2 separate regions of the Homo sapiens genome follow, and region 1 is linked to region 2. The links are contacts of gene promoters, found by promoter capture Hi-C in blood cells and fetal thymus (Javierre and others, 2016). All regions are on one chromosome and are shown on one strand. The core of a region is centred on a gene start or on the middle of the fragment in contact, and the rest is flanking DNA. Distances in the headings are between cores, read along the strand shown. Region 1 overlaps SARNP (SAP domain containing ribonucleoprotein). Region 2 holds the start of CD63 (CD63 molecule).

Region 1 (6,559 bases), core at 1,152-3,651, 66 kb after region 2:
GCCAGGCTGGTCTCAAACTCCTGACCTTAAGCAATCCACCTGCCTTGGCCTCCCAAAGTGCTGGGACTACAGGTGTGAACCACCGTGCCCAGCCTGTCCTTTTTTTAAATTCTGAGACAGGATCTTGCTCTGTCACCCAGGCTAGAGTGTCATGGCAAGATCACACTCACTGCCAGCCTTGACCTCCCAGGCTTAAGAGATACTCCCACCCCAGCGCCCCAAGTAGCTGGGACTACAAACACCTGCCACCATGTCTAGTTAATTTTTTAATTTTTTGTAGAAACAAGGTGTCACTTTGTTTCCCAAGCTAGTTTCCAACTCCTGGGTTCAACTGATCCTCCCGGCTTGGCATCCCAAAGTGCTGGGATTACAGGCATGAGCCACCATACCCAGCCGTTTCTTAAAAATAATAACTGTTTCAGGCTCGGCACACCTGTAATCCCACCATTTTGGGAGGCAGAGGTGAGTGGATCACTTGAGGTTAGGAGTTCAAGACCAGCCTGGCCAACACAGTGAAACCTGTCTCTACTAATAATACAAAAATTAGCTGGGTATGGTGTCACGCACCTGTGGTCCCAGCTACTCAGGAGGCTGAGGCAGGAAAATAGCTTGAACCTGGGAGGCAGAGGTTGCAGTGAACCAGATCACGTCCCTGCACTCCAGCATGGGTGACAGAGCAAGACTGTGTCTCAAAAAATAGTAATAATTTCCTCTAATTCATTACAAAAGTGATACATATTCATTGTATGGATTTTAATAACACAGACAAGCAAAAAGAAATAAATCATTCAAAATTCCACCAACCAGAGATAAGAGTATTAACAATTTAGAATACAGTCGTCCCTCCATTTCCTCAGGGGATTGGATCCAAACCCACCCCTCCAGCTGATACCAAAATCCACCACACTCAAGTCCTGCAGCAGATATAAGCTGCTCCTCCATATCTGCAGGTTTCACATCCCAAGAATACTGTATTTCTGAACCGCATTTGGTTATGGTGAACCCTCAGATACAGACAGCAAACTGTATTTATTGAAAAAAAAAAAAATCCAAGTATAAGTGGACCTGTGCAGTTCAAACCTTGCTGAAGTGTCTACTATGTATCCTTCCAAGCTTTTTTCCTATCTATACATGCACTCTTACATGACTAAAATGGGAACGTACTGTTAATATAATTTTGTAACTTTTTTCATTAATATCTCTGATAAATATCTTTCAATATTATTTCAGCACAGTAGTCTGCTATACCATGGCACACATTTAATAACTAATTCTCTGTTGTACAGTTGGTTGTTTCCAGTTATTGATCACTATAAATAATGCTGTGATAATCCCTGAGGCTAAGTCTTTATGCACATTCAAGACTATTTCCTTATACGTTCCTAGAAGTAAAACTGTTAAGGTAGAAGATATTCTTTTCCCTTTTATCACTTATAATAGCCAGTATAACACTAGATAGTATGCAATAATTTTATGCAGTTGAGACCCCAGAATAAGTAAGCAAAGTACTAGAGAAACTTCTTTGAAGATGTTCAAGAAAAGACAGACAAATGTTGGCACTTCCTATCCTCTCATAACATTCAGTATCTCTCTTAATTGCCCAGGAAGGCCTAAGTATAATTTTACCTAAAGCAGGAGATGAATGTTACAATCTCTTAAAGAGTTTCTACAGCTAGCAAATTTACCTTATTTTGGAGAAATAAAACCTGTTATACCAGAAAAGAAAGAATAAAAAGGTAACTTTCTCAGAAGTATCTCTGTACTCTTACCTTTTGTTGGAACTGAAGAAATCCCAAACCTGAAGAAGGAAAAACAAACTAAATTTTAGGAAGCTGTTCACACTCCTGGTTTGTCTGTCTCCGTGTCAAGTATACATATGACACTTCTTGCTTGTGATCTCAAGCCTTGCAATCATTAGCTAATTCTAACAACCCCATGAAAGAGGTTCAGAAATTAAGCTAAAAGGAAGCCTTATCAGAATTAGTAGTAGTCAGTTCCTGGCTTTAACTGTTACAAAAACCCTTCTCAATAAAGCTCAATTTATAGCTACTATAACCAAATCAGTAGACATGTTCTGAATAGGGTCAAAAAAGTGTTCATATCCTTCAGCAAGCCTCTATTCTACTTAAAATCAACAATTATACCTAAAAGCTAGGATCACACATCTTCATCTTTACAACACCCCTATCAGAGGCCCAAAAGGCTGGGGACACTCACCTAGCTGCCCGAGCAGCTTTCTTACTCTCCAAGCTCACAGGTACATTGAATCGTTCAGCCCTCTTCTGCATTCTCTAAGTAAAAATAGACAAAAGGGAGAAAAAAAAGTCAATTTATGGTTTAAGAAAGTCAGTCAGAGGTAGGTATCTTTAAAAAAAAAAAAAAAAAAAAAAAAAAGAGTCTCACTCTGTCCCCCAGCCTGGAGTGCAGTGGCATGATCTCGGCTCACTGCAACCTCAGCCTCCTGGGTTCGAGCGATTCTCGTGGCTCAGCCTCCTGAGTAGCTGGGATTACAGGACTGTGCCACTGTGCCCAGCTAATTTTTGTGCTTTTAGTAGAAATGAGATTTCACCATGATGGCCAGGCTGATATTGAACTCCTGGCCTCAAGTGAACTGCCCACCTCAGCCTCCTAAACTGCTGGGATTACAAGCGTGAGCCACCTGGCCCAGCCAAAGGTAGGTATCTTAAAAACATCAGAAGTAATTTCTTAGGGTCTAAACTGAAAATACTGACAATCCTAGAAGATATCAGGTTGTGTCCATGCTAGGACTTAACGGCCCTTCCCACAAAGCAAACAAAAAAAGACTATTACTAGATGCCCTCAAAAACAAAAGGGAGAAATAAAGTAAAACCTACATTATGCATGAAGCCAAGAAGTCAAAAGCTATGTTTGGCTGACCTTTGAAAAGTGATCAAAGGAATAGCTTGGTTCCAACACCAATGGTATTCTTTCAGTTAGAAATGAGGCAGCATTGTTTTATGCCATTCTAAAAGAGTTTAATAATTCTCTACTTTGCAAGTATGATACTGAACACAAGATCTCAAATGGAACCTGGTTTCACAGTCCTGCACCACAGAAACCAGAGAAATTTCAATCTCAGCTACTGGCCAGTAGCAACATAAGAGTCACATCTACCAATACATTTTCAAGGTACAATCCTCCTAAATCTAATCCTAGGTTTGAAAACATCTCAAAGAGAGTCACTGTTAAGACCATAATATTACATATAAAAAGACTACAACTTCAAGAATGACTACCCCTACGCCAGCCAAATATTTTCCAAAGAGTAGCTGGCAGTGAAACGTATCAACACCAAAATCTGCCAATACTGATTTTCTGCCTGTGAATAAATTTTAGAGGATGATGCAGATATAATAAAGGGTAAGAGGGAGAGAGAAATGTAGAGACTGTTCTACTAGGGAGCAGAATACCTACCTCAGTCTGTGGTATTTCAGATGTAATTTTCACCACTTTCTTCTCTGCTGCCCTAGAAAAGAAAGAGATTTTTTAAAATGAGAAAACTGATATTCTAAACCACAACCTCAGAAATGTGTAAGAATTCACCTGAGTCACCATTCTCTGCCCTATTATCTCTCTGCCACCCCCTAAGCCAAAGAAACATGAAGTCCACTAGAGCTTTGGTTCCTTTAACTGTCATCTATTGAGAGGAAAGAGTTCAAATAACAAACTAAGCTTCTTTAGCTAAAGTATAATAAAGAAATAAGGAAAGAAGTCTGGTTAAATATACTGGGCTGAAGGGAAACACTCAAAGGACACCAGAAACCATCTCATTTGCTTTTAGGAACTTTTCAATTTACTTTTATTTTTCTGAGACGGAGTTTTGCTCTTGTCGCCCAGGCTGGAGTGCAATGGCACGATCTCAGCTCACTGCAACCTCCACCTCCTGGGTTCAAGAGATTCTCCTGCCTCAACCTCCTGAGTAGCTGGAATTACAGGCACCTGCCACCACGCCGAGCTAATTTTTGTATTTTTAGTAGAGATAGGGTTTCACCATGTTGGCCAGGCTAGTCACGAACTCCTGGCCTCAAGTGATCCACCCACCTCGGCCTCCCAAAGTACTGGGATTACAGGCATCAGCCACCGAGCCCAGCCTTTAATTTACTTTTGAACTAATGAGTAACCCTCCAATCCTCCTTTAAGTACCACCTCCCAATGTTCATCACAACAATTAATAAGTACTCTACAAGGTCTGGTTTCCTTCTTTTAAAAATCCCTTATTTCTCCCATGGGGAATGTAGCTCTAGCTGGAACAGTCAAAGTGAAACAAATAAAAATGCCAAAGAAGGTAGGAAGAAAAAAGTCTAAGGGGAGTTTGAATTAGGAAAACATGGTAAGCTAGTGGTCAAAGGTTTAAGAGGAAACAAAAGAGGGGGGACCACAGGGGCGGGAGACAAAGTTCGGAAGTACCCACGATAAATGGAAGGGCATTAACCCTCCACCAAACAACTCCCATAAAACTGTGGGTCATAACCAGTCTCATTAAGGTCCCTCATTTAGAGACATGGGCAGCTTTTGTTCCAATATCCTGAACACTTTTCCCATTTGATGCCCTGAAAGGTAGTAATGGTTTAATGACATTTTCAGAGGAAGCAATTCTGGAATAAGAACTTACTCTCTTCCACCCTTTTATTGGAAATCCCTGGACTGAAGACAAGCAATGGGTGCCCCCTGCTGACTATAACGAAGTCCTACGATATGTAACCGCTTTAGCTGGTTGGGGGTTGGGAATCAAACTAGAAACAGGTATATTTTTGGAGAACTTCAGGCCAAACATGAAGAAGGGGATCTCCTTTTAAATAGTCAAGGAATCTAAACTAGCCCTGGCTATTCTGACGTTTAAAGAAATTTCTAAACGCTTCCCATTTCCTTGCCATCCTTCCCTAACCTTGTCTTATAATTTAGGCACAAAAGGCTAAAGTTTAATGTTTTACTTGAAATCCAATGCCATCAAGAAAGTAGTACTCTCCATCAACCCCAGTGTAATGACTTCCTCCCCATTACCATTCTGAAGCACAGTCAATGCAGTGCACATCATGGCAGAAAGGGAACCCCAGACGGGAAGTTTCCTTCCATTCTATTACAATTCCCTTAGGCAACTAAACTCAAGCGCAATAAATAAACATCGAATTCTGGGATGCATGGGAAATTTCCACTCTTCACTGAGAAATTTCTCTCCTACCCAATCACATAAACAACATTCCCTGAAATACAGAGACCCAGAATCTTTTTGTACATACTTCAGTCTAACCACAACTATCCTCTAAAAATCAAAAACGATCACCCCACCCACTTCAATTTCCTTGTTTCAAAATTCATTAATAGAATTAAAGCCCCCTGAACAGAATGCACATTTTAAATATTCTATGAATAATGAACTTCAAACTTTCGAACCTCTATTTTTTAACCCACAGAAGCCAATTATCATGGTATTCACTTGATCTTCTTTCTTGTTCCAGAAATCCCCATAACATTTCTATTTTAAAGCTATCTCACAAAGTCATTTTTTCAAGGCACTATATCTAATTATAAACATCTTATGATGGAAAGATAACTAAATGGCTTTAGAAAGTAGTATTTGATAGGCTGGAAAGTAGTATTTGATAGGCAGGTGATTACTGGCTCACACCTGTAATCCCAGCACTTTGGGAGGCCAAGGCAGGTGGATCGCTTTGAGCTCAAGAGTTTGAGACCAGCCTGGCAAACACGGCGAAACCCCATCTCTACAAAAAATACAAAAAAAGAGCTGGGTGTAGTGGCTCGTGCCTGTAGTTCCAGCTACTCAGGAGGCTGAAGCTGGAGGACTGCTTGAGCCGGGAAACGGAGGTTGCAGTGAGCCAAGATTGTGCCACTGCACTCCAGCCTGGACAACGGAGTGAGTCCCTGTCTCAAAAATAAATAAATAAAGGGATATTTGACAAAAATCTATCAAGATGTTAAATGTACATCCTCTGTGATGCAGCAAATCCACTGCTAGGAATTTACCCTGTGGGTATACTTGTGAGTATAAATAATTAGAAAAGGACATGCAGAACTACATTTTTTTTTAATGAATAATCTAAATGTCCATCAACAGAAGACTGGTGAAATAAATTACTGTTTATCCATAGAATGCAATACTATTAAATGCTAGAAAGAACAAGGTTCTAAGTTGATAACTAGTAAATCTGGGTGATAGGTAGATGAGAGTCTATTACACTAGTCGAACTTTTGTATATACTTGTAATTTCCCATAATAAGCTAAACAAAAAGAGACCACTTCCTAGGATAATTATCCTGACTTTACAGGGTCTACTGAGGATAAAATGACAGTACATGTAAAACATTCAGAACAATGCCTAGCATATAACTCTTAAGAACAATGCCTAGCATATAACTAACACTTACATAAGAAAATGATGATATAAAAAATTTCCAGATGTGAAAAAAAATCAAGTGTGCACAGTGTGTGTATACGTGTATCTATATATACACATACATACATATACACATGTACAGACCCCATATATAAAATCTTCCAAAAGTATGTACTGTTCTAAAA
Region 2 (6,901 bases), core at 1-2,500:
GGAAAAGGGAGCAAGAGTGATGTGTCCCTCCCTAGACAAACAGTAGCCTCTCAAGCCAGGAGCCCAGGGCAGGAGCAAATTGAAGTGGGCAGAGCCCTTCCTCACCCCCAAGCGCTGGGAGGAGGGAAAGGGGGAGAGGGGCTGGACAGGGATGAGAGGGTTGGGGAGGGAGAGAGGGGAGAAGGGAGAGCGAAGGGAAGCCCCATGGCGATAGCATCAGGCGGTTGGCTGGTTGCCCCACTGCCCCATATCACAAGTGGTTGGGTCACCAGACAGGAAGGGCCAGGAGGGATGGGGGTAGGGGTTGCTGCACACCCAGGATGGCCATTCTCGGTGGAAACAAGCCTCAGGTGTCCAGGAAAACTGGAGGAGGGAGTGGCTGCGCTGTCTTTCCCTGGCTTTCTTTCCACATCTGGTCTCCAGCTGCCTTAATTCTCATTCCCTCAGCCCTCACCACTGTGGAGCCAGGTCTCCCCGCACCCTGCCGGCGCGCCCCCCAGGACCCCTCGCCACTCACGCAAAAGGCCAGCAGGAGGACGTAGAGCAAGAACTTCACACATTTCATTCCTCCTTCCACCGCCATGGCTGCCGGGCCTGGGGCAGAGGGGAGGGCGGGGGGATTAAAACTGGCCGAAGGGGGACCTCGGTTTCCGGGCTCCCGGCCGGCCCTCGAGGGCTTCCCTTCACGGCCCCGATTCCCGGCCCCTCCCACCCGGAAACCCGCGGTCGGATCCACGTCTCCCAGCCCCCTCTTTACCCGCAGGAGAGGGGTGGGGGCGACGGCCGCGAAGCCCGGACCCCGCCCCGCCGCCTCTGGGGCCCAGGACAGATCCAAGGGCGCCGGCAGGGGCTTGAGCCTGACGCCGACCCTCGGCCCGCCAGTCTCCGGGCGTCAAACACCCTTTCCCCACCCAACACCCAGCCTGGAGAAACGGTCTTCAGCCCAACCCCGACCCCCGCCCCAGCCCCTTTCCCCTGGGCTCTGACCTCCCCGCCCACCAAAAAAAAAAAAAGTGCAGCCAGCACCCCCGCCACACCCTGCCCGGGCCCAGGGAACTTCGAAGCAAAGTTGCTCCAGGGCGGCTGGAGAGCGCCGGACGAGTCTCCGCGGGCCTGGGGCGAGCCCTGGAGGAAGGGACTGCGGGTGGTCTCTCCCAGCCCGCGCCGAAGTCCGCCGGGTCCCCGCGGCCTCACCTGGGCTTCCCAAGGCTGGCTGCGCGTTCCTCTCCCGCCGCGGCTCCGGGGCTCTCTAGCTGCGCCCCCCGGCTCCCGCCCCGCCTGCCGCGCGGCCCCGCCCCGGGCTCCAGCCACGGTCCCCTCCCCCGCCGAGTGGCCGCCGGCCTCCCTCATGTGACGCGGTAACAGCTGCGGCCTGAGTCACTGGGCCCGGCGCGGGGTGGGCCGAGCCCCCCGCCCGGCCAGGGCCACGTGGCCCCTACCCGGAAGAAGGCGCCCACCCCCGCAAAGGGAAAGCCGCAAGGGCAAGACCTCGGGGCGCCTGGGGCCCCCCTCTGGCGCTATACCTCCGTGCCAACTCGGGGTAGGAGAGCGGGGCGGAGCGCAGCCTGGGTCACTCTGGTTCAGAGAAGCGGACGAGGTGGGTGAGAGTTACCCTCTGAGCGCCGGGGCGGAGAGCTGAGGCCGGGTGACAATGTGGTCTGTGAGGTTTCCCCATCCTACCGTAGGGGATGAGCCAGCTCTCTCCTCTGGCTCCAACTCTGTGCAAGCCCCCTCCCCATCCGACTGTGCAGACAGCTGGGGACTGCCTGGGGTCGGGTGGGGCCAGAACAAACACTTCCAGAAAGTCCCTGGCTCACATCCTGGGTGTCTCCCAACATTCTACAGCATTCTAGAGTGGGGATTTCTGGCCCCCCTCTATTAGCACAGCTTCTCCATTTTCCAGGGATCCTAGTCTGAGAAAAGGGGAGGAAGCCCTTCCCCGAAGCCACGCTACCCAGTCAATCAAGACACGTCCGCGTCGGGTCCCGCCCTCTGGGGGAGGATTGACAAGGTCTGTGCTTCCAGCCTCCCAGACAGCTCCTGCATCCGTCTGTGATAGCGAGGGCTTGGGGGAAGACACGAAGGCAGGAGAGGCTTACATCCTCTGGATTTCCCCGTCTTATCCCAGAAGACAAAGCCAGGTGAGGGCTGGAAGCGGGCTAGGGGGATCAAGCTGCCTCCCTCCCTTGTGTGCCAGGGGTGGTCCCCAGAAGGAGCTGATCTGAACAGGCCGGAGAGTAGGACCGGCCGTCACACCCCCACACCTCCAGCCTCGGCCCCACTCCTTGGGCTCTTAAGGTCCTGCCTCAAGAACCACTTCCTGAGTCTTAGTGTATGTGTGTACACAAAGAATGAAAGAAGTCTCTAGAGCTAAAGGAAGGAGATCCGGGCTGGGCTGAGAAGCATCTTCCAGGATCACGGCCTTCCCGCGGGACACACCAAGCCCATTCCGGATCTTGCTCTTCCTGACCATGGCTGGCAGGCTGTGGAGGAGGAGCGGAGAGCAGAAGAAAGGAGTATTCATCAGGTTCCTTATTGTGCTGCCACTAGATGCCAGGCATGTGCTAGGCTTGGGGGCTGCAAGGAGAGGAAGACAGCGGCCCTGCCCTCTGCTAGCAGGCAGAACCGAGTTCTGGCCACACTGTGAAGAAAGGCAGAAGCCTGCGGTGGCAGCTGGTTAAGCTCAGAGGGAGGGAAAGGGAGAGGAGAATGGATTTCACGGAGCAGAAGGATGTGCTCAAGGTGACCTTGGAGAATAAAGGGGAGAGCTCCAGGGACAGAGAAGCAGTCGACTGTGGAAAAAAAAGGAGCATTTTGTAAAGTACATGGCAGGTTGGGGTTGGCTGGCTCAAAGGGCTTGGGACGGATGTGGTGAGATGGGCTGAAGGTGGTCTGAAGATCAAGATTGAGAGACTAGATACATAACAACCAACTGCAATGTTTGGTCCTTCATTGAATGGTTGAACAAACCAGCTGTGAAAGACATTTTGGGACATACAGACATGGACTGAGAATTAGACATAAGAAAATTATTTTGTTAACTGTTATCATGGTTAACAAAACGGTCATATAATATGATTATGTAGAGAAGTTACTCTAGTTTTTCCTCTTTTTTTTTCTTTATTCTCCTATCAGCCAATGCATTTGTTACAGGAAAGGGGTCCCAATCCAGACCACAAGAGAGGGTTCTTGGATCTCATGCAAGAAAGATTCAGGGCGAGTCGCAGTGCAAAGTATAAGCAAGTTTATTAAGAAAGTAAAGTGGTGAAACAACAGCTGCTCCATAGACAGAGTAGGATGTTCCCCAAAGTAAGAGGAGGGGCTAGGCGCAGTGGCTCACCACACCTGTAATCCCAGCATTTTGGGAGGCCTAGGCAGGTGGATCACCTGAGGTCAGGAGTTCGAGACCAGCCTGGCCAACACGGTGAAACCCCGTCTCTACTAAAAATACAAAAAGTAGCTGGGCACAATGATGTGTGCCTGTAGTCCCAGCTACTCAGGAGGCTGAGGCAGGAGAATCACTTGAACCCAGGAGGCAGAGGTTGCAGTGAGCAGAGATCGTGTTGCTGCATGCCATCCTGGGCAACAAGAGTGAAACTCCGTCTCTCTTTTTTTTTTTTTTTTTTTTGAGACGGAGTCTCGCTCTGTCACCAGGGTGGAGTGCAGTGGTGCCATCTTGGCTCACTGCAACCTCCGCCTCCCGTGTTCAAGTGATTCTCCTGCCTCAGCCTCCCAAGTAGCTGGGACTACAGGCACGCACCACTACGCCCAGCTAATTTTTGTGTTTTTAGTAGAGATGGGGTTTCACCATATTGGCCAGGATGGTCTCCATCTATTGACCTCGTGATCCGCCCCCTCAGCCTTCCAAAGTGCTGGGATTACAGGCGTGAGCCACTGTGCCCGGCAAAACTCTGTCTCAAAAAAAAAAAGTAAGAGGAGGAACACATTCACCCTCGGTATAATGCTTGTATATATGGAGAGATGTGCTCTGCTACAAAAGTTTGTGATAAAGGATTAATTTTCTTAATTACTGTATTTTGTAAGAATCGATATTATCTTTTTTATTATTATTAATTTGTTTCCTTAACCATAAACATCTAGGTTTTTTGTTTTTGTTTTTGTTTTTGAGATGGAGTTTTGCTCTTGTTGCCCAGGCTGGAGTGCAGTGGCACAACTCACCACAACCTCTGCCTCCCAGGTTCAAGAGATTCTCCTGCCTCAGCCTCCTGAGTAGCCGGGATTACAGGCATGCGCCACCATGCCTGGATAATTTTGTATTTTTAGTAGAGCCGATATTGTGCCATTGCACTCCAGCCTGGGCAACAGAGCGAGACTCTGTCTCAAAGAAAAAGAAAGAAAGATGAAAATGTTGTGGAGATGGATGGTGCTGATGGTTGCACAATGTGTATGTACTCAATGTCCCTGAATTTTATGTTATATATATTTTACTACACACATACACACAAAGAATGGCCCACTTCTACAGCCTGGAAAGTTGACACAGAGCTCCATGTGTTTGCTGGGGTGCAGGATAGAGGGGCCTCTTAGTGGGAAGTGGCTGATCTCAGACCTGGCCCTTCACATCCTTCAGATCCCCCAGCACCTGTTCCAAGTGCCTGACATCCAGATATGCCACCAAGCCGTCCTGGCTGGCCCAGGCTGCTGCCTCTTGGTTGCCTGGCACCAGTTGGTGGTAGGTGTGCTGAGGCGGGGACCCTTGTCCCTCCACACCAAGCAAAGCCAGCTTTCCCTCCAGCTTCACCACGCCTCCACCTAGGCCCAGCGACACAGCATGGGGGCCACAGATGTCTCAAGCAAACCTGCAGCCTTCTGAGAGCATGTAGGCATCAGCCAGACCCAGTGCCATGCACAGCAGCTTGTAGCCTGCATCTAAGCACAGGAAAGGGTGAGGGGATATGAGGAGGGTGAGGGGATATGAGGAAGGTGAGGAAGAAAGAAGGGATCCAGAATCAAGGGAAAAGAACAGTTGAGGAGAGTTGGGAGAGGGGTGAGGAAAAACCGGAAAGTGAGAGACATAGAGGAGGGTGGGAGGCATGGGGAAGGATGGGGGAAGAGGAGGCAAAAATACATGAAGGATCAATGCTTCTTGGGCTTCAGTTTAAAAAACATTTTCTTTAATTTTTGAAAAATAGGTGTAAGAGAGGAGTGGGGAGAGGGAAGAGGAAGAGATAGGGATGGGAGGGAAGAAGGAAACAAGGATGCATCATCAAAGCCATCCCCCCACTGGGAGGGTAAGGAGAGTGGTGGATAAAATTCAAGGTCCAGAGGTTGGGTCTGAAATGGGGGCCTGAAATTTAAGTCCAGAGGCCTCAGCTTTGGATAAGGATAGAGGCACGGTGCTTGATGGCATCTCTCAGATCGCAGGGTGAAGGAGGGGCTGCACCTGCGCGTTTGCAGGTCCTGCTGGCAGAAAAGCTCATAGACCATCCCGCAGGGCTCTCCAGAGAGTAGGTTATATGCCCCAGCACCAGCACTGAGTGCAGCCCCCAGGGGAGTACTGTGCACGGGCTCCATGGCGACATCACCACTATGTATTTACTGGTTGGTGGAGACTGGGGAACACAAAGGAGTCTCCAGGCCAGGCGCGGTGGCTCACGCCTATAATCCTAGCACTTTGGGAGGCCGAGGCGGGTGGATCACCTGAGGTCAAGAGTTTGAGACCAGCCTGGACAACACAGTGAAACCCCATCTCTACTACAAATACAAAAATTAGCCAGGTGTGGCCAGGGCGGTGACTCACGCCTGTAATCCCAGCACTTTGGGAGGCCAAGGCAGGCGGATCACGAGGTCAGAAGTTCGAGACAGCCTGACCAACGTGGTGAAACCCCGTCTCCACTAAAAAATACAAAAATTAGCCGGGCATTGTGGCGCACGCCTGTAATCCCAGCTACTCAGGAGGCTGAGGCAGGAGAATCACTCTAACCCCGGGAGGCGGCGGTTGCAGTGAGCTGAGAACACGCCATTGCACTCCAGCCTGGGCAACAGAGCGAGACTCTGTCTCAAAAAAAAAAAAAAATTAGCCGGGCGTGGTGGTGCACACCTATAATCCCAGCTACTCAGGAAGCTGAGGCAGGAAAATTGCTTGAACCTGGAAGGCAGAGGTTGCAGTGAGTCAAGATCATGCCACTGCACTCCAGCTTGGGCAACAGAGTGAGACTCCATCTCAAAAAAAAAAAAAAAGGAGTCTTCCAGTCACTGGGTGGCCATCTCTGCTCCAACTTTTTGGGGGAGGCCACACCCTTCATAATTGGCAAGACTACATTACCATGGTATCCAGAAGAACATATTGCCAAAGTCCCTTTTTTATCTCACTTCCAGGAAAGTGGGGCTCAGAGAGGTAAAGCCACTCACTCAGGGTCAACAGATCAACCTGCACGTAAGAATCTGGGTCTTTTTTTTTTTTTTTTTGAGATGAAGTCTCACTCTGTCACCCAGGCTGAAGTGTAGTGGCACTCAGCTCCCCAAAACCTCCGCCTACCAGTTTCAAGTGATTCTCCTGCCTCAGCCTCCCGAGTAGCCGGGATTACAGGCTGTAGCCCGCCACCACACCTAGCTAATTTTTTTAATTCTTTTTTATTTTTTTCCGACAGAGTTTCGCTCTTGTTGCCCAGGTTGGAGTGCAATGGCGCGATCTCAGCTCACTGCAACCTTTGCCTCCCAGGTTCAAGCGATTCTCCTGCCTCAGCCTCCTGAATAGCTGGGATTATAGGTGCCCACCACCACGCTGGCTAACTTTTTGTATTTTTAGTAGAGACGGGGTTTCACCATGTTGGTCAGGCTGGTCTTGAACTCCTGACCTCAAGTGATCCACCTGCCTTGGCCTCCCAAAGTGCTGGGATTACAGGCGTGAACCACCACACCCTGCCAGGGTCTTGATGTA

What was found. The method cuts DNA at HindIII sites, captures the fragments that hold promoters and counts their contacts. A CHiCAGO score of 5 or more calls a contact.
Region 1: a fragment that was not itself captured here is called in contact with the fragment with the promoter of CD63 in region 2 in 1 of 17 cell types (megakaryocytes); the score reaches 8.7 in megakaryocytes.

The regions. Positions count from the first base shown.
Region 1 is chr12:55,792,590-55,799,148 of GRCh38, forward strand. SARNP (SAP domain containing ribonucleoprotein) reads right to left here. Exons shown (of 11, transcript NM_033082.4): 5 at 3,436-3,487; 6 at 2,218-2,291; 7 at 1,770-1,798. Among named protein-coding and RNA genes, the nearest start is that of SARNP, 22 kb to the right of the region's middle. RefSeq lists an enhancer at 5,630-6,131. The HindIII fragment of the contact is 2,580 bases long and covers 1,112-3,691 here.
Region 2 is chr12:55,727,759-55,734,659 of GRCh38, forward strand. It overlaps CD63 (CD63 molecule), which reads right to left and starts at 1,251. Exons shown (of 8, transcript NM_001780.6): 1 at 1,195-1,251; 2 at 518-594. The coding sequence starts at 583. CD63-AS1 (CD63 antisense RNA 1) reads left to right here and starts at 1,336. Exons shown (of 2, transcript NR_183514.1): 1 at 1,336-1,597; 2 at 1,904-3,094. RefSeq lists silencers at 648-947, 1,218-1,597 and an enhancer at 1,077-1,683. The HindIII fragment of the contact is 20,987 bases long and covers 1-6,901 here.